Linked DNA regions of Homo sapiens: region 2 is linked to region 1. The links are contacts of gene promoters, found by promoter capture Hi-C in human tissues and cell types (Jung and others, 2019). All regions are on one chromosome and are shown on one strand. Each heading gives the region's core, a stretch centred on a gene start or on the middle of the fragment in contact. The rest is flanking DNA. Distances are from core to core; before and after follow the strand shown.

The links. The method cuts DNA at HindIII sites, captures the fragments that hold promoters and counts their contacts. A contact is called where the count stands out against the background at its distance.
Region 2: a fragment that was not itself captured here is called in contact with the fragment with the promoter of MYT1L in region 1 in 2 of the 25 tissues and cell types used here (IMR-90 fibroblasts and aorta).

Annotation. Positions count from the first base shown.
Region 1 is chr2:2,328,268-2,335,257 of GRCh38, forward strand. MYT1L (myelin transcription factor 1 like) reads right to left here and starts at 3,008. Exons shown (of 25, transcript NM_001303052.2): 1 at 2,700-3,008. The HindIII fragment of the contact is 11,173 bases long and covers 1-6,990 here.
Region 2 is chr2:2,210,440-2,217,276 of GRCh38, forward strand. All of the region lies in intron 2 of MYT1L (myelin transcription factor 1 like), which reads right to left. Among named protein-coding and RNA genes, the nearest start is that of MYT1L-AS1, 110 kb to the right of the region's middle. The HindIII fragment of the contact is 3,840 bases long and covers 2,856-6,695 here.

The DNA of each region.
Region 1 (6,990 bases), core at 1,758-4,257:
TAATTGGGTATATTCAAGAGTAAGGTACAAAATAGAAACATTTTCAAGAGAGTAAAAAATAAATAAATAAATTAGGTGAAAAACATAACAGGGACAGTGAAAACAGCATATTAAAGAAGTCTCATTCTCTGAAACTATCCACATAGTCCTAAGGTCATGCTTTGACAGCTTTTATAACCCCGAAGAAGACTAGGTACTCATATTCCTTTAATAATTTTTGTACACCACTCATATGTGGTCACAAATCATTGGGCCTTTACCTTGATCTCAGCTTCTAACACAAATTTGTGAAATTGGCATAAGTTCTGCTGTTGGATGCAAGTTTAACTCAAGAGAAGTTGAAATTTGTGTGTCATGCATACTTTCTACCTTACTGTGACACCAGATAGTCCTGGTGCATCTTTTCAAAGATGAATTTTATTAATAATTACATGTATTTGGATAAAATTTTCCAGTTGAAAAGTAATAATGTTTACAATTTTCCAACCCACAACTATACATATATACAAGTAATTTTTAACATATTGATATGTTTGAATATTTGGAAATAGAGTAAAATATGTGTATAATGGCAGATGGAAAGTCTTTACTAAATAAAAATGTTCAAGTATAGATATCTTTGCTGCCACCATCTTCAAAACATCCAAATGTGACCATGAAGGCTTCTCCTACTTCTACCTCAACTAGCACAATCATTAAGGTGATGAAAGTGAGCCATTTTCACATTGCCAATAAACTAGGAGGAAGTCAGTCACTGTTGAATGCAATCGCTATCAGCTGCGGACAGCTCCTGGTGCTGAAAGGGAAGGCAGAGAAGCCTGCTCACAATAGCTCACTCCACCAGCCTTTGAAAAATCACAGCAAAACTGAATGAGGTGGCAAGTGCTCAGCCTGAATAGCACTGTCTACAGAACAATGGCAGCCAACTCTAAATCCTACTATAATCACATTAATGAGATTAATCAGTGAATTAGCAGCAGTCAAATGTCAGGGAGGCAAGGAAGAATCCAACCAAGATTGGTAATTAACTTTTTGTGGGTGGGGGTGGGGAGGAGAGAAAAATCAACTGTGCTATCTCATAGGTTTTTTTAGATGTTGATAATTTTGATTCACGAATCTGAAGACTATATGTACAGATCAAAAGACAACAACATAATCCTTCATATTATAATATAGATCCAGATCTCATATTACTGATTCTTATAGTCCTCTGAGAAAGCTGATGTCACTTTAAATAATCTTCATAATCTATCAGAATTTTATTGTTTTAAATTCTTTAAATGCACAATTAATATTTAAAATAAACTTATTTCTCTGAAAATCAAGCTAAAATATAAAGAAATATGGCTGATTAAAAGCAGAAGGATTATATAACAACTGTTATTGTTTATGAAAAGTGTATGATAGTATGGTAAGAGTTTTCAAAGTGCAATCAAGTAAAGTACCATCACACACACACATCAGTAGTGGTCTATGTTAGTTAATAAAGAAAATTTATCACTCAAGTATAACTTTAAGGAGACTTTTAAGCAATTAACTTACTGCATTTGAGGTGATAGAATCATACATGTTCTTTTAGGTCAATCAGAAAAAACAAACTTCCTTTTTTTCTGGAATGTTTCTCTTAGTAGCATTTATAACTTACAATCAACACTTTGGATTCAAAGTTCTTGAGAGGTGAAAACTTATAGGAATGCAATGCTGTTTTTTTTTTTGAAAAGGAATATTTTATAAAACTCTTTTCTTTTAAAAATAATTACATTTTTATCTGTATGGGAGACATGACTTTATTATTTTTAAAGCTACATGACACTAAATGAAGATGAACAATTAGAAAGACCCTCATATGCCAGTAAGGGTGGTTTTGGGATGCTTTGGTCTATGACGTTAATTTTGTTTAGTAGAAAATATAAACATTTGAACAAAAAGGCTCTTATATAAAATAGTTTTACTCTAAGTAACTTAGAAATTATTTAGCTTATATAGCTTTGATGGTACAAGAAATTGTCATGGTTAATACTAAATTCAAAATCTGTTCTCTATATTTTATATAGCTAACTTTCATATAAATATTTACATATATATTTTTGCTTTATTCAGATCTATCTTAAAACTAAAGTGTAGAGTTTAATCTTTTAGTTTATTAATTTAGGTGTTACAAAAAGACATATTTCTGTTATAAATAACATTTTCTTTCATTATTATGAACTTCAAACATTTAAGTTAAATTTAAAAATCTTTATTTGAGTTTCTCCACTTAAACAATATAAATCAACTTTCTTCTTACCATCAGGTAAATTCATCCAAAATAGCTAACATTTTAATTGCCTTTGCATAAAATGATGTGCTTCATTTGTAATGTAAAGTAATCCAGTAAAGTCTCTGGGAAGTTTTTGTTTCAGTATCCTCTTATCCTCCAAACACCATACATGCACCCCGTTTTGTTTTTGTTTCTTTTTTTCTTAATAAACAACATCACAGTTAAGTCATGCAACCTAATACCCATTTTAGTTTAAAGACAGATTTTTTTGTGGATTACAAAGCCTCCAGTCCAGGAACATTTCAGCTACCAGCCATGCTGTAAAAATAACTTTAAAAAGGAGCAGACAATGGAATAGCAGCCTCAGCCCTTGAGCTACGGTAAAACACATCCTGCTCACTAAGTTCCCCGAAAAATTAACCTAACGAACATCACGTACCTCACAATGACCACAACCGCTCACAAGCGAAAGACAAGTTCAATTTTGGTAACTGTGCTGGCTCAAAATACACAGACAGGGAAGAAAACCCTGTTCCACCACAAGTTTGAAAGGATGATGAGACACATGCATGCCACCAAGACGCAGAAAAGGTGGCTTTTTGTCTTCAGTGAGTATGGATATCATAACCCATAGTCCAGGGAATGAAAAAATTAAAATGCACCCACCAACAATGAGCAAAAAACCCGGGGTGCTTCAACAAGACTGCAGGGAAAAGCTCTCTCACTGTTTAGTGTGCAGTAGCTTAGGGAAAAAAAAAATGTCGCCCGGGCAGGAATGACAAATGCAGCGCGATAGGCTCGCAGGCCTCAGGGATCTGTTTGACTTCCACACACCCCCATGCACACGCTCCCACTCATCCTCTCCTAGGCTTTTTTTTTTTTCCACATTTTTTTTTCACAAGCTCCAAATCCCCGGCATATGACCTTCTGTTAAATAGATAAAAAAAAAAATTGCTTATCAGTCATGCAAATGAGGCTGAATTCATTTTCCACAACAGATGGCCTCATAGATAATGATGATGGAAGAGAGAAAATTGAATGTCTCTCACAAGGTGGCCATGGCAACCGAGAGCAGAATAATATCAATAATAAACTCACTGCATAATAAGGTTGTCAGTCCTACAAATCAAAGTCTCCAGCTAAATCAGGTATACCACCCCAGCTAGTTACCAGGTAAATAGTACACACACACACACACACACACACACACACACACACTTCCACAGAGTGGCTTGAAATCTTTCATGGTCACTGTAAAATGTGTACGTGTGTGTGTCTGTTGGTGGCAAGAAGGGGTTGGGGGAGAGAATAGTTGGATAATGAAATGACAATGTGACTTTTTTCTTTTCCTTTCCTTTCATTATGTTTTCTGCAATAGACTCGGTTTCATGCAGGACCTTCTAACTAGCCATATTGAAATCGGGATGCGGTGCTGAAGGCTTTCTCTCCTCCCTCTGCCTCCGCGCTCTCGCTCTGATGTGCTGCATTGATGCAATAGCAGCTCGCCTCAGGCTTCCACCTTGGCTCCCAGGGGGACATCCTGCAAAATGAATCAGCAGCCATCCTGAGCAGGCTGATTAAAATGAAAATGGCAAGGCACATGTCTGGGCGGAACTGGAGCTCAGCTTTGCTGCTTGTCTGGCAAGCATGCTCAATATAGCTCTTGCTAATAATGGCTTACTGCCTTTCATTTTTTAAAAAGGTATCACCCTTTTCCCCCTTCACTGACTGGTGTTGTCTGTGTGTGTGTGTGTGGTGTGTGTGTGTGTGTGCACGTATGTGTGCGTGCATGTCGCGGGGGGAAACGAGAATGGATGGTTCTATTCTTCTAATTTTCTGCTGCTCACATGCAGACTGCCTGCCTGACAGCACCATTATTTTAACACTGAACTTACTTCAGCTTTTCTTTTGGGACAGGGTGGGGGGGCGGTTGATAAGTCTTGGGGCAGAAGGGCTAGTTTTAAAATCAAGCTGCCTAAAAGGCCCAGACAAGATTTTTACACTCCAGATTCAATAATTTCTAACCAAATCTGAAGCAACAGACCTCGAGAGAACTCCGATGCTCTGCTTCACAGGCTCACAGTTGGACATGCTGAAACACAGCCTATGAAGAAACCTATTTCTGTTTCGAGCATTTGCAACCAGCCTGTTACTGTATCCTAGATATTATGCAACACAGAGAATTAAAACAGAGAAAGCTACTAGCTAATAAAATAATCGAACACAATTGAAAAAATAAATCTTGGATATTTTGTTGTTTAAAATTCTCAGGCATAGCTTCAAGATTGCCCTCAAATAAGCTTTACTTTGCAGCACCTCTGCCGAGTATTCCAGGGTTTTTCAAGGCATTCTGGAAATTAGACCATTATCACCTCTCAAAAAAATGGTTGAAAAATTAGAACGAATAATTTTTCTAAACTCATTTTACTCTACTTCTCCTATACATCTTATTCTATGTTATAAACAGTCTTTAAATTTTGCTAAATTGTCAGTTTTGCTTTCCTTTGGTAACAGATGCTTGATTTTTGTATAAAACTATCTATCTACTTATTTTTGTCTTTGTAATTCCTGTTTCTGAGACGTGATTTTTTTTTCTTCTGAGCTCTAGCCCTGTTGCTGCAGTGTGAATCAGAAATCAATAGCGCTGCCCTAATGGAGACTCCACTCGGCACGCGGCAAGGCAGCTGCAGTCTCCTCTCTCTCTTTCTCTCTCTCTCTTGCACACACACACACACACACACACACGGAACTAATGACGTCTGTGCAGCTTTTTCAGCTGATTGGGCACCACATCGGATGTTCTGTGGAGCAAAGAATAGGAGTCATTTACAGTCGGCGGAAAAAAAATGGGAGCATATATCCTTCTGTGTGTAAGACACTGATCCTGAGCTCCCCAGGCAAGCAGCATGTGGGTAAGGACGGTTCTTCGTGTTGTGGTCACCACGGGGTAAAGAGCGCCTCCAAAATGATTATAGAACTGGAACTGCAGTACAGTGGGAGTATTTGTCCATTTTGTAAAGGACAAAGCATTCCTCTAAAAAAAAAGTGAGCACAATAAAATTCCCACGCAAATGCGAGTGTTTAGGTCAAATCGTGACCTCCTGGGTATTATTTAGGCGTTTACATATACATTATATTATTACTTCCAAGGAATTCCAAATGTACTTAAAAAAATAAAGTTCAAATTAAATGAATATATATGTATGTACACACACATATATACACACATATTCATGTAATCATTCCCTATGAGTTTATCATAGTTGTGTTAATAATAAATTCTTAGTTAAAATTCACCCCCACATACCTTACCTTACATTAAGAAGAAAGAAATCTGTAAATAATACTGACACAATATTTTAAATCACAGATTTATACATGTATATGTTTTTCTTACACATTTGTGCATGTCTATGAAAACAGAATGTATATTTGATATGGGGCACCTGCACACACACACGCAGGCACAATATTCTTTCAACAGCTTTGGTTACCTTAAGCTGTAGGTGTAACTCACTGCAATGACAGGCTGCTGTGTTGATAAGCATAGTATCTAATGTTTTACCCTTAAGGTAAGGCATCCCTGGACCCAGCAGCATTAAAGAACACGTCTTCCCTTACCACACTGTCACTGCATTTCATTCAACCTCATCGTGTTGACAACAACTGCCCCAGCCTGAATCGGGCTCCAGTGAAGCATTTGTATTCTTTCCACCCATTCTCTGCATGACTTTTAGAGCTGAGATACCAGCCCTCAAATGGCTCAAGAGAAGAGGAAAAATGAATGAATCATGAAGCCACAGAGCCACAGCAGAGCAACACTGCAGTCTGCATTTTGCAGTTACATTGTAGCTCACTTGATACAGTATGATTTCTTCAAAAATGATATCGAGTACTCTGCAGTAAGGTACCATAAAATCCTTTATGATGTAGAAGAACTGGGGAATACTCAAATGACCATTTAGATTAAAAATCTGTAGTTTGCGATTAAACCGTATAACCAAATGTTTTGTCTCTAAGTATCTGTCACCTGCCTCCTTAAATTATTTCTAATATATTTTGTACTTCATGTATTAGTTTATTCCACATGTTAAAGCCCTTGGTATTAGGAAATACATATGTCATTAATTTTGTTTATTTATGTATGTATTTATTTATTTGTAAGAGAAAAGAAATTGGAACATATTGCCACTTCTAATGGGTATGTCCTCCAATTTAGTACAAAGAAAAAAAGCCCATATAATTTTTTGTGTGGAAATACACACAAGTTATAACCTAGGATGTATTTCCAACTGTAGGATACATATGCTGATCACTTTAACAAACGATAGATTGATCTCTCATAGTATAGAAAGTTCAATCTCTTTCCTTTCTGTTCTCTGGACTCTGGTCTCATCATGAGACCAGAAACAAAAAGGAGCCGTGACGTTTCTTCAGGTGCCATGTTGCACACCAGGTGAGGAGCCGGGAACTAGACCTTCATGGAAAGCATGACGATGACTTCATGACCTTTTCTTCAGAATTATGTCTGCACCAGTGATGGAGAGCTGTGACATCTAAAGGGAGTCTGAGATTAATTTAGGTCTGGAGCAAACAGCATAGAATTGCTATAGTTGGGTAGTAAATTGGTAAAACCTGGAATCCAGATATTACTATATCAGAGTGTACACTATGCAAAATCAGGCACTAACATAGCCCTCCGCCACTGTATTGGGGAACAACTTTCCAAG
Region 2 (6,837 bases), core at 3,526-6,025, 120 kb before region 1:
GGTCAAGTTTGTCCAGTTTTCCCAGCACCATTTGTTGAAGAGACTGTCTTTTCCCAGTGTCTATCCTTGGCTCCTTTGTCAAAAATGAGTTCACTGTAGGTATAAGGATTTGCTTCTGGATTCTTTATTCTGTTCCATGCATCCATGTGTCTGTTTTTATGCCAGTTCCATGCTGTTTTGATTCTGTATAGTTCTGTAGTATACTCTGAAGTCAGGTAATGTGATTCCTCCAGTTTTGTTCTTTTTGCTTCACAAAATTTAGGCTATTCTAGGTCTTTTGTGGTTACATATTAATTTTAGGATATTTTTTCTATTTATGTGAAAAATGCCATTGGTATCTTGATAGGAATTGCATTAAATCTGTAGATTTCTTTGGGTAGTATGGACGTTTTAACAATATTGATTCTTCCAATCCATGAACATGGAATACCTTTCCATTTTTTTGTTTCTTCAATTTTTTTTAAAATCAGTGTTTTATAGTTTTTGTTGTAAAGATATTTTACTTCTTTGGTTAAGTTACTTCCTATGTATTTAATTTTATGTGTGGCTATTATAAATAGGATTGCTCTTTTGATTTCTTTTTCACATTGTTCAGTGTTGACATATGGAAATGCTACTGATTTGTATTTTGATTTTGTATCCCACAATTTTACTGAATTTATCAGTTCTAATAGTTTTTTGGTGAAGTCTTTAGATTTTTCCAAATATAAAATCATATCATCTGCAAATAGGTATAATTGCTTATGCATGTTTGATTAGAAATTTGAAAGTTTTTAAATCTGAAAGTTTTTAAGAGTTTAAACATCCCTTATAGCCAAAATTTTGAAAATCACATAACAATGACCACGTTTTTAAACATCCATTTTCAAAATGTTCTTTCCATAGGACAAGGTTCTTTTTAAAGTAATTCTTTCTTACTAATTGTTTTAACATTAATTTTGCTTTGAAGCATGATCTTCATGTATCGTTTTTTTTAAAAAAATTCTGTTAGTACTCCTTTAGCCACTGTCATCCACTAATAGCAAATTTGAAGCACATGTCTTTATTACAAGAGAAAAATAACTCATCTTTAAGACTGACAACTCTGGCCAGGTGCAGTGGCTCATGCCTGTAATCCCTGCACTTTAGGAGGCCGAGGCGGGCAGATCATGAGGTCAGGAGTTCGAGAACAGCCTAGCCAACATGGTGAAACCTGTCTCTACTAAAAATACAAAAATTAGCTGGGCGTGGTGGCGGGCGCCTCTAGTCCCAGCTACTCAGGAGGCTGAGGCAGGAGAATCGCTTGAACCCAGAAGGCAGAGGTTGCAGTGAGCCAAAATCGCACCATTGCACTCCAGCCTGGGGACAGAGAGAGACTCCATGTCAAAAAAAAAAAAAAAAAACCAAACAAAAAAAAAACTGACAATGCTTCTAGAACATTATAACAAGCAGAACTCTTTGTGGTACAAATGATTTTCACAGTCATCCCATTTCATTACAAAGTATTATAAAATATTATAATATAACTCTCATAAATCTATTCACTGAGGCCCTCATAAACTGCAATACAGAGCAGAATGCCAAATGCCAGTGGAAGAGTCAGGGTTCCAATGTCAAGCCTCTGCATTTCAGACTGTCCATGGTCTGCAAGTCCCCATCTAGACACATGACTGATGCTGGGAAAATGGCGGTGTCTATATGCGTATATAAGCTTTATACTTGGAAACAACACATTTATTAACTTTAATACAAATAGATTTGTATTTTTCTTATAACCTGATACCTTTGAATCCCCTGAAATATGGGCATTTAACTTTGAACACCAATATCTTAGAGTCCCACATCGATATTCAAACTCCCCCAGGATGAGTTACCCGATAATAAAGGAGCAGGCGAAATTTTAGGAAGATTGGGTGGTGCCTAGCTGAGGCTCAGACATAATTTGTAAATCCCAGTGCTTTTAAATTTGTTAATAAAAAGCATGAATAACTAAATTAACAAATACATACTATTTTATAACAACAAATGTTATATATGTAACACAATATTCATAATTTATTACTCTAATAATACATATTTTTGTTAATTTAGTACACATACAAACACATTTTGATTTTAATTCCCATAAATGCTCTGCTGTATAGTAAGTATAAATGGTATTTAAGTTGTATAGACGGGATTAGTACTAATTAGTAATATTGTTTCATGACTAAATTAGATGTTTATCTGTTTCCTCCTCACTTTTTACTTCCCCATCATCTATCATTAGCCTTAATTGTTAACATTTCTCTAGTATCGTGTAGTTTGTTCTCATGGTTGTAGTCATTGTCATGCACAGAACAACACATTTTAAAACAAATATCTTGAATTAGGCCACCAAAGAACTGGTGTTACTTTATTCTCCCAAGTTTGTCATTCCACCTAGCTCAATTCTCAACCTTGACACAGCAACGGAGTGCCCTGTGCCCAAGGCCTGGTCCCCAGTGTCCATCTTCTCTGAGGGCCACAGCAAGCTGGCCATCTGTCTTTCATGAGGGGAAGAGAGGAAGAAGGCAAATAAGTAGAGGGGAGAGGCACAGAGTGGACTTTATTCTCATCAACCAGAGACTTTGGGATGGAAGAACTGAAACAGAGGAACTAACGAAAATAGGACTTCTGCATCCCACCAGGATGCAGGGACAGCTACTAAACTTAGCTTCTCACCAGAACAACCAACCAAGCAAAAATGCAAACGGACAAATACAAAACAATTGTTTCAAGACACCAGACACAAGATAATGGAGAGTGATCCCTGAGAGATAGAAAACAAAATGCTTGTCCTGGTTTATTGCCTTGAGTTTCTGGAATGTGTTGCCAGGAGGGGAAACCCAGGGAGAGCCAGTGAACTCAGTGAGTTGAGGAGACAGAGCTTAGTGTCCAGGGAGACCAATATAGCTAGAGGCTTCAGGACAGAGCACTGCAGAGAAGGGAGCTGCAGAGAGATAATCCTGGGGGTGCACAGAGGGTCCCCCAACAGTATCCAACATAATATTGACCAGCACAAGTCTATGAGGAGACTGCCTGAGGCCAGCCGAAAAACCACCTGAAAATCCTTGCAGGAGGAGTGTGCAGTGCTGACCCAGGGCAGGGGATGAAGCCTGTTCTCGTCAGCCAGGTGCTAAACCTTATATTCACAGTGCCTTCAGCAGAGCACTCAGAAGGCCTCAACTTAATAGCAGAGAATAATTAGTAATAGGCTGAATATTACTCAGCTACTGCCTAGCAAATGTAAAAAGCTAGACCATATCATACTATTTCCAAGTAACTTAACTGCTTCCAAGAGGAAAGCTCAAAAATATTTCTAGAAATGCAAACATATCCAGCACCCAGAAGGTAAAATTTACAATGTCTGGGATTACATTAAAATTTTCCAGGCATGAAAAGAAGCAGAAAAATAAAATCCACAGTGAGGAGAAAAATCAATCAATCTAACCATTGCAGAACTGACACCACTGTTAGAATTATAAGGACAATACAAATAATTATTATAATTGTATTTTATATATTCAAAGAGTTAAGTGAAGACAGGAGATATTTTAAAAAATTAAATCAAATTCTAACAAATGAAAGCTCTAATATCTGAGATGAAAATGCACTGTACATGATTAATGACATATTAGACCTTGCAGAAAGAAATACGAGTGAATTTGAAGACATAACAATTGAAATTATCTAAATGAAACAGAGAGAAAAAAAGAATTATAAATGAACAAAATATCAGTGAGTCATGGGACAACTTCTAGTGGTCTCATATACATGTAATCAGAATAACCTAAAAAAAAAAGAAACATGAGACAAATTATCTATCTATCTATCTATCTATCTATCTATCTATCTATCTATCTATGTTTGAAGTTGCTGGCAGAACAATCTCCAGATTTAATGAAAACATCAAACCCACGGATCTAAAATAATGAACAAAACCCAAACACAAGAACACATAGAAAATTACATACAGCTCAAAATAATCAAATTTCTCGAAACCAGCGACAAACAGGAAAGCTTAAAGGCAGATAATAGGGAAAAAAAGGTGTGAAGGATCAAAGATAATAAATATAACACATATCATCAGAAAAAGAAATGCAAATAGAAAGATAGAACACCATCTTTAAAGTACTTAAGAGGAAAAGAAATCCCCTTACCCTAAAGTTCTTTGTCCACAAAAATGTCATTCAAAAGCGAAGTAAGACAAAGACTTCTTCAGATATAGAGAAGCTGAAAGAATATGTGTCACCAGCAGACTGGGCCTTACAGAAATATGAAATGAAGTCTCCACACAGAAGGAACATAGGACCGAATTGGGATAGTCACACGGTAACAAAGAATATCAGAGGTAGTAACTGTATGGATAAATGCATCATATACTTTTCTTAGTAGCTAAATCTCTTTAAAATTAAGCAATAGTTTAAAAATAATAATGTAGTGTGTCATTTGTAACATATATAAAAATAAAATGTATGATAATAGCACAAATGCTAAGAGGGAAAAAATGGAAGAACAACATTGTAAGATTCTTATACTACATGTGAAGTGGTATAATACAACTTAATGGTAAAAAATTAAAGATGTATTTTACACATCCAAAGCGATGACTAAGATAATAGCAATTATAAGCATTATGCATAATAAACCTATGAAAGAAATAACAGAATCATAGACAAATAATCTAAAGCAAGGCAAAAACAAGAAAAAGGAAATAAAGAACAGATGGGATAAATATAGAAAGATGGTCGACTTAGAATTAACTATATTCATACATTACATGTAAGTTATCTAAACACAGTAATAAAAATGCAGAAGTTGTTGAATTAGATACAATGTAAGATCTAACTCTATCGCCTACAGAAACACATATTTAAAGACAAAAGTAGGTTAAACATAAAAAGATGAAAAAAGATACATCATGCTTGCACTAGTCAAAAGAAAGCTAGAGTGGCTCTGTTAATAACAGACAAGGAAGCTTTCAAAGCAAAGCATACTACCAGGGTAAAGAAGGTCATTTAAAACAATAAATTAATCAAAAGAAAATGACAATCTTAAATATGCATGTAATAACTGAGTTTAAAGGACATGAAGCAAAAACTGAAAGCACTACAAGGATAAATAGACAAATCTACAATTATAGTCAAGAGATTTTAACCCTCCTATCCTGATAATTGATAGAACAAGTAGACAGGAAATCAGTAAGGATATAAGAGGTTTGAACACTATCAACCAACTAAACCTAACTGATGTTTACAAAACACTGCCTCCAACAACAAGATAATTCATATTATTTTCAAGTCCACAGTGAACATTTACCAAGTGATATAGTTTGGATATTTGTCCCTGCCCAAATCTCACGTTGAATTGCATCCCCCAGTGTTGGAGGTGGTCCCTCCCCAAATCTCATGTTGAATTGCATTCCCCAGTGTTGGAGGTGGAACCTGGTGGAAGGTGTTCGGGTCATAGGGGTGGATCCCTCATGGCACGGTACTGTCTTCATGTTAGTGAATTCTCCTGAGATCTGGTCATTTAAAAATGTGTGGCACCCTCTCCCCCAACCTTCTCTCCTCTTTCTCTCTCTCTTTTGTGTCTGTCTGTCTGTCTCTCTCTCTCTCTCTCTCTCAGTTCCACGTTCCACCTCCTATCATTTAAGCTTCCTGAGACCTCCCCAGAAGCAGATGCTGGTGCCATGATTCCTGTACAGCCTGCAGAACTGTGAGCCAATTAAACCTCTTTTCTTTATAAATTACCCAGTCTCAGGTATTTCTTTATAGAATGCAAGAACAGCCTAATACACCAAGGTAGATTATCTTCTGGGGTGTAACACAAGTCTCAATAAATTTAAAAGGATTTAACTCATACAAGTACATGTTTCGACCACAGTGGAGTTAGATAAGAAGATAATAATGAAAGTTTTTAGAAAATTACCCCCAAATATTTGGAAATTAAATAACACATTTCTAAATAACCCATGGGTCAAAGGAGGAATATGAAGAGAAATTTGAAAGTATTTTCAACTGGATGAAAATGAAAAAGAAGTTCCACCAGGTATCAATTTGCGGGAGGTTGGTGAAGCATTGTTCTGGGCATTTAATTTGCAACATTAAATGCGTATATCAGAAAAGAACAAGTATCAATGACTTCAGCTTCCGCCTTAAGCAACTAGAAAGAGAAAAGCAAATTAAACCCAAAGTAAATAGAAGAAAATAAATTATAAAGATCAGCACAAAAATCTGTGAAATAAAAAACAGAAAACAATAGAGAAAAATCAACAAAGTCATATGTTTGTTCTTTAAGAAGGTCAATCAGAGTGGGAAATCCCTGGTCAGGCTGGTCAGGAGAGAGAAAGAGAGAGAGAGAGAGAGAACACAATTACCAATGTCAGGAGTAAGAGAGAAAATGTCAATAGTGAGCCTACACTTACTAAAAAGATAATGAACAAAAATTATGAGCCACTTTAATGAATAAATTCAATAACTTAGGGGAAATAGAAAAATTTGATTTGAAAGACACAAAGTACCAAGCTCACTCAATAAGAAATAGGTATCTTGGAAAGGCTTCTATCTACCAAAGAAATGCAAATTGTAGTTAACAACTTTTCCACAAACAAAACTTCAGGTCTCGATACTTCAGGTATGAATTGCATCAAACATTCAATAAATGAATAATACAAATTCTTTCAGAAAATTTAAAAGAAAGAAATACTTGTCAACTCATTCTATGGTGCCACCATTTCTCAGATAACTAAATCAAAGATACCACAAGATAAGAAAGTCACAGACAAATATCCATAATGAACATAGATGAAAAAATTCTAAACAAAATTTTAACAGT